Regions from separate parts of the Homo sapiens genome. Here region 2 is linked to region 1. Evidence: promoter capture Hi-C in 16 types of primary human blood cells and fetal thymus (Javierre and others, 2016). All regions are on one chromosome and are shown on one strand. The core of a region is centred on a gene start or on the middle of the fragment in contact, and the rest is flanking DNA. Distances in the headings are between cores, read along the strand shown. Region 1 holds the start of GRM6 (glutamate metabotropic receptor 6). Region 2 has its middle 36 kb from the start of ZNF354C.

What was found. Contacts are between HindIII fragments. The CHiCAGO score rates a contact against its expected background, and 5 or more counts as called.
Region 2: a contact is called between a fragment that was not itself captured here and the fragment with the promoter of GRM6 in region 1, in 3 of 17 cell types (megakaryocytes, total CD8 T cells and neutrophils). The highest score is 5.8, in megakaryocytes.

The regions. Positions count from the first base shown.
Region 1 is chr5:178,993,401-178,996,709 of GRCh38, forward strand. It overlaps GRM6 (glutamate metabotropic receptor 6), which reads right to left and starts at 1,920. Exons shown (of 11, transcript NM_000843.4): 1 at 1,876-1,920; 2 at 1,041-1,560. The coding sequence starts at 1,544. The HindIII fragment of the contact is 9,329 bases long and covers 1-3,309 here.
Region 2 is chr5:179,094,361-179,097,695 of GRCh38, forward strand. No RefSeq gene overlaps it. Among named protein-coding and RNA genes, the nearest start is that of ZNF354C, 36 kb to the left of the region's middle. The HindIII fragment of the contact is 2,410 bases long and covers 707-3,116 here.

The DNA of each region.
Region 1 (3,309 bases), core at 670-3,169:
CACAGCCTGTCTGGTGCCAGCGTGGAGATGTCACATCAACACTGCCAATCCGAGGAAACAGGGATGGGGGCTTTCATGTGCGCAGACGATAGGGAGCGGCCCCGCACGCCTGGAACAAACACAGACGCTGCGCCCGGGAGTCGGAGAAGCTCTCAGGAAACAGAAGTTCCTCTCCTAGGTAGATGGAAGCCAGGCCTTCCTCCTTCACAGAGAGCCGGATGCACACAGGCCCCTCCCGCCACAGAACCCCAGAAAAACTGTCCCACAACCCCCAGTGAATGACCAAATCGAAAACCCCCAAACTTGTATGCCAAAGCCCTCCTAATCCCGATTCTGCTGGCCCCTAGGACTGCAAGGAACACGCTGCCCCTCACGGGACAGTTCCCTACATTTGAGGACAGAGCAGGGCCAGCCCGGGCACCTGCGCAGGGCAGGGTGCAGGAGACCAGAGCTCAGAAGGGAACGCCCCGCCCTGCTCTCAGATGCCCCTTGAGGGAGAGTTCAAGGCATTTTGAAAATAAATTTAAATGATCAAAAAAGAGAAAGACCAGACCTTTCAGGCCTATCCATCCCCCATAGCAGCCCAGGGACACGCCCCAGTTGCTGCTCTGGAAGAAGGGCCCGGGTTCCAAACAAAACTCAAAGTTGCAATATCACTCGAGCGCTCCGCAGGCCCAGGGGGCAGGAGCACCTTGTATGGTTGCAGGGGTGTGCCCAGAACAAGGGCACCCGAGCAGGCTGGCAAATGGGGGCTGAAGTCAGGCCGCCCTCCCCAGCCAACCGGCCAGAGGCGTAGGTGGCACCCGCCCGGGAAGGGGCGCCCTCGCGGGGCGGGGTAGACATGGGCGGCTGGAGTGTTTGGGTGGAGCCGATTCAGGCCTGCGTCGGGCTCAACTGACAGGGCTTCTTTGACGCTGTGTGAATTCGAGTGATTAAAACGGAGACTCTTTCAGAAGAAGTAAAGGAAGGAGACTTGGGCCACCCCAGGGCGAGGACGGGAGAGGGACGCTGGACACCGAGCCCGGCCCCGCGGCCCTCACCGCAAACAGGCGCAGCACGTTGGCGACCATGATGGAGACGGAGCTGGCCGAGGCGCCCACGACGGCCACGACGCGCTCGGGGGGCGCGGGGCGCAGCGGAGGGACGCCTCCCGGGCAGCGCACGCCCACCTCGTCGCCGTCGCCGCGGCCGCGGATCAGCGCCTGCACGAAGCTCAGCGCCTGCTCCAGCGCGTAGGTGTCCCGCGAGCAGGTGTCCAGCAGCCGCGCGCCCAGGCGCACGCCGGGCAGCAGCTCGGGGTCGGCGTTGACGCGGTCCAGCGCGTACAGCATGGCCTCCAGCCGGTGCACGCCCTGCTCCTTCTTCAGCTGCCCGCACGCCCGGCCCGCCGCGCCCCGCGCGTGCACCGGGAACAGGCCGCCCAGCGTCAGGCCGCCCGCCAGGCGCACAGAGCCCGCCGCGCGCGCCAGGCCCGCCTGCGCCAGCCACGCCAGCGGCAGCAGCGCCACGAGCAGCGGCTCCCGGGCTCTCCGGGGCCGCGCCATCGGCTCGTCTAGCGGGCTGCGGGGAGACAGAGGGGCGGGGAGCGCTCTGAGGGCGGGGGAAGGAGAGCGCGGGCTCGGGGCGCGGGGAGGGACACCGGGGTCCTGGGGAGAAGGCGCTCGGGGCGCGCCTTCCACTTCGGCTCTGGGGAGTTAGCTCAGCCGGCCTGCCCGGGCCTCCGTCTCGCTCTTACAAGCGCCGAACCCTGTCGCCCGGGGTCCCGCCCGACCACTGCCTCCACCCCTCCAGCCCTGCCGCTTCCCGACAGCTTGGCCCCTCTTCCTCGGGGTCCATCCCCAGCGCACACCCAGGCTCCCGCCCCAAGCCAGTCACCTGCGCCAGCCGCTGTCGGTTCAGGACAAGTCTGTGACAGATGCGGCCGAGGCCCTGAGCGAGAGAGGATTTAAGGATTCTAGGGAGGGATGAGAGACCGCTCCGAGGGTGGAGACCCCTCCTGAGTGTGGGGGGTGGCGGTGCTGGCTCTCCCCGCATCTCCTTCCCCTCCCTCTCCCAATCTCTGGGTCTGTTTTCCTGTTTTCTTGTCTTTGGTTTGCGTCTGACTCAGACTGTCTGGCTGTCTCTGGGGCTGTGTCTGACACAATCTCTGTCCATCTCTATCTCAGTCTTCTTCTGCCTCTAGGTCTCTGTTTCTCAGTCTCTGTCCCTGGCTTTCTGCCTCTGTCCTCTTCTTGGAAATCTTTTCTGTCTCTGTCCCTTCCTGTCTCTCCCTGCGGTTATCTCTCTCTGTCCCTGACCCCTTTTCTGTCTCTCTGTCTCTGTCCTGGCCACCAGTGCTCCTGACTGCAGTTGCCTAAGGTATTCCCCAGCTTTCTCCTTGCAGAACCCTGCAGGGGGCAGGGGCTGCCTGAGCTGGGAGGGCCTAAGGAAGAGGAGGAAGAGCGAGGGGCAGGAAGGGGCCAGGAGGGAGAAGCCTTTAGTATTAGCGAACTTACAACACCCTGCAGTCGAGAAACAGCCCTCGAGGAGTGAGTTGAGTTGCCCAAGTGCATGCAGCTGGCATGTGTGGGCATCAGGATTCACACCCAGAATGGCATGAAACAAACAGCCCACACTGCCTTGGATGGAGGGAGGGGAGGGGCCGGCTTTCCTCGCAGCTCCCACTCCCGCCTATTGCTTGGGAGGATGGAACCCCGCGGGGTCGTTCTGGCTCCGTATAAAGTCTCCTCGGGCTCTGGGTCTGAGGCAGCCACTCGAGCTGCGGTGCTCACTGTGCCAACGCTCTCTGCACCTAACTCCCCATCTCATCGTGGAGGCCAAGGTGAGGGGGCTTGGCCAAAAGATGCTTTTATCATCCCCCCATCCGAGGCCCAGGATTTGGCTCTCTGATGCCAAGAGAGCAAAGGGCGTCCTGGAGACAGGTGGTGAGCTCCTAGCCACAGGGATTAGCAGGCTCCTCGTCCGAGGGCCTGAGCCGGCTTGGGCTCCATTAGACAGGCTGGATTAGGGTGGCTGCGGGGATTTGGACAAGGCTGGTAGAGGGAGCAAGCAAGAAACATGCCACCTTTCTCTCTTCCCCCGCCTCTCCCAGGCCCCGATAGTTTCTACTGCCAGAACCACTTCTCCTGGTGGAAGCCCAGAGTCAACAGGCTGGGCCTAGCCCTGCTCCTATCCATTTTAACAGTGGGAAGGGTGGGGAGCTTGGCTGGTGCCAGGCCCTGAGCCTGACATTGCGAAGGACTGCATAAACTGGGTTTGGGAGGTGGATGGGCCCTTCCCTGTTCAGGACGAGCCTGACAGCTCCCAGCA
Region 2 (3,335 bases), core at 662-3,161, 100 kb after region 1:
CTCTCTTCCCCCATTTTGAATTTTTGATGTCACAATTTGCATTTTATATTGCCTATCTCTTAACAAATTGTAGTTATTTTAAATAGTTTTGTCTTTTAGTCTTCTTAGTAAATATATAAGTAGTTTACATATCATGATTATTACATTAGTATAACAATCATGTTAATGTCCTTTTCTTTTGGTTTGAAGAATCCCTTTAGCATTTTTTTATAGGTCCAATCTAGTAGCAATCAATTGCCCCAGCTTTTGTTTGTCTGGGAAAGTCTTTATTGCTCCTTCATTTCTGAAAGATAGCTTTTCTGGGTATAGAATTCTTGCTTGGCAGATTTTTTTCCCCCTTCAGACTGGAAATATATCTTCCTACTCCATCCTGGCCTGTAAAGTTTCTACTGCGAAGTCTTCTGCTAGGAATATTTGATCTCTCTTACATGTTATTTGCTTCTTTTCTCTAGCTACTTTTAGAATCCCCTCTCTATGTTGGACCTTTGAGAGTTTATATGTCTTGGAGAATTCTTATTTGGGTTGAATCTGATTGCTAACCTTTGGTCTTCCTGTACCTGGATATTTGTATCTTTCTCCAAGTTTGGAAAGTTTTCTATTATTATTTCTTTAAATAAGCTTTCTACCTATATTTCTTCCTCAGTTCCCTCTTTAAGTCCAATAATCTGAATATTTGCTGGTTTGATGTTGTCTTATAGATCCCCTAAGCTTTCTTTATTCCTTTTCATTATGTTTTCTTTCTCTCTTCCATGTATTTTCAAATAGTCTGTCTTTGAGCTCACTGATTCTTTCCTATGTTTGATCAGTTCTGCTGTTGATGTTCTCTATTGAAATTTTCATAGTATTTTTCAACTCCAGGATTTCACTATTTTTTTCTTTTTTGAGATGGAGTCTTGCTCTGTTGCCCAGGCTGGAATCCAATGGCATGATCTTGGTTCATTGCAACCTGCACCTCCTGAGTTGAAGCGATTCTCCTGCCTCTGCCGCCTGAGTAGCTGGGATTATAGGTGTGCGCCACCATGCCTGGCTAATATTCATGTATTTAGTAGAGACAGAGTTTCACCATGTTATCCACGTTGGTCTTGAACTCCTGACCGCAAGTGATCCACCAGCCTTGGCCTCCCAAAGTGCTGGGATTTCAGGCATGAGCCACTGTGCCTGGCTGATTTCACATTTAAAAAAATTTTTGTTTTAATCTTTCTGTTAAATTTGCTGGTACATTTCTGAATTAATCCTATGTGTTTTCCTAAAGTTTGTTGAGCTATTTAGAACAGCTATTTGGAATTCTTTTTTTTTTTTTTTTTTTTGAGACAAGAGTCTCACCTCTGTCACCCAGGCTGGAGTGCATGGAGTATAGTGGGGCTATCTCGGCTCACTGCAGCCCCCGCCTCCTGGGTTCAAGTGATTCTTCTGCCTCAGCCTCCCGAGTAGCTGGGACTACAGACGTGCACCACCACACCCGGCCAATTTTTGTATTTTTAGTAGAGATGGGGTTTCACCATGTTGGCTAGGATGGTCTCGATCTCCTGACCTCGTGATCTGCCCACCTCGGCCTCCCAAAGTACTGGGGTTACAGGTGTGAGCCACTGCGCCCAGCCTGGAATTCTTCATCTGAGACATTAAACATCTCCGTCACTTTGGTCTGCCTCTGGCACCTTGTTTTCTCTGTTTGGTTAGGTCATATTTCCTTGAATGTTTTTGAGCTTGTGGATGTGCAACAATGTCTGTGCATTTAGGGACTGAAGATTTATTTTAGTCTTCACAGTCTGGCCTCATTTGTGCCTGCCTTTCTTCAGAGGGCCTTCCAGGGATTCTAAGCCCACTATTGAGTTCCCTGAGCCTGTGACCACTGTACCCATCTCAGCACTGGAAGATGCTCTATGCCCAGGCTTGCTGTGAGTCTCATGAGGACTTTGAGGTTTTGAGTCCCAGATGGACCTGGGGAAGACCCAAGGAATGGATATACTGGGGCTGTGTGGGAATGCTAGCCAGGGACCTGGGTCTAGAAGACTGTACTGTAGGCTCAGATGGGTGTGCCTCCTCGCAGATCTGAGTCTAGAAGACTGTACCGTAGGCTCAGATGGGTGTGACTCCTAGCAGGTCTTTGCATAGGTGGAATGGGTTCCTTACTGCAGCAAGAGGAGCTGGAGTTGAGACTGGGTCCCCTTGGAATCTGCTGTGGGACAAAGGCTGGAGAGCCCATTATGTTGGCCCAGATAGGTGAGCATCTCCCAGCAGATCTTGGAACAGATGAGATAGTTCTCTGATTGCAGTGGGAGGGGCTGGAGCTGAGACTGGTTCCCCTCAGGATCTGTTGTGGGATAAGATTGGCAAGCCTGTCAGGGAGGCTCAGACTCCTGGGATTGAGGTATGAGTGAGTCTCCCTCTGGGTTCTTGTGTGAGCAACTCTGAGCTAGGACCTACATGGGAGTGATGGGGACTGGAGCTGAGCCACAAGGCAACTTTGAGGTTTACTTCTAAGATGGAGGTGACGAGGCAGATGCCTTTCCACCAAGGCACTAGGGTACACAATTCCTTCTGGATCCTTTAACAGATGGTTTTGGTTGCAGGTTCAAAGTCAAACAGTACGGTAGCCAAAGCCCCTTGGGGGACTGGGCCATTTCTGGGCTTGAACCCAGGAACAAGATTGGTGGATCAGCCAACTGGTGTTAGTCTGCACTCTCAAAATAATCCTCCAAGATCTTGGGCTCCACCAATATTTCACAAACTCCTATCTGAATCCTGAGGCAGAGAGACTTTTGATTCTGGATAGGCGCAGAATTCTTGTTGTTGTGGGGAGATGTGAGCAGGTTACCTTCTATTCTGCCATCTTGGTGACCAGAATTTTCTAATTTTCAATGTTTTTTTGACCTGTGATTTATTTAGAGGTATGATTTTTAAATTTCAAAAATATATTTTAGCTAAATTTTAAAATATTGATTTCTAATTTAATTTTGTAGTTAAGTTACATTAAGTAAAAAATCATTTCAATTTATTATTATTCTTTAATTGTCCAATATGTTGTCAGTTGTCATAAATATTTTGTATGTGTTTGAAAAGAATGTGAGTTGTTCAATTGTTGGAGGCTCAGAGATATATGTGTTTTCCTTAGATCAAGCTTGTTTGTTGTATTATTCAAATTATATATTATTATTTTTTCTGCTGAGCTATCAATTACTGAGAGACATGTTAAACTTTTTCCCTAGGATGGAGGCTTTGTCAATTTCTCCTTGAGGTTATGACAACTTTTGATATATTAACCAGGTTAATTGAACTTTGATATCTTTATAATATTTATTTCATGACCCTTGTCTATCCAGTAATTTTTTTTTGCC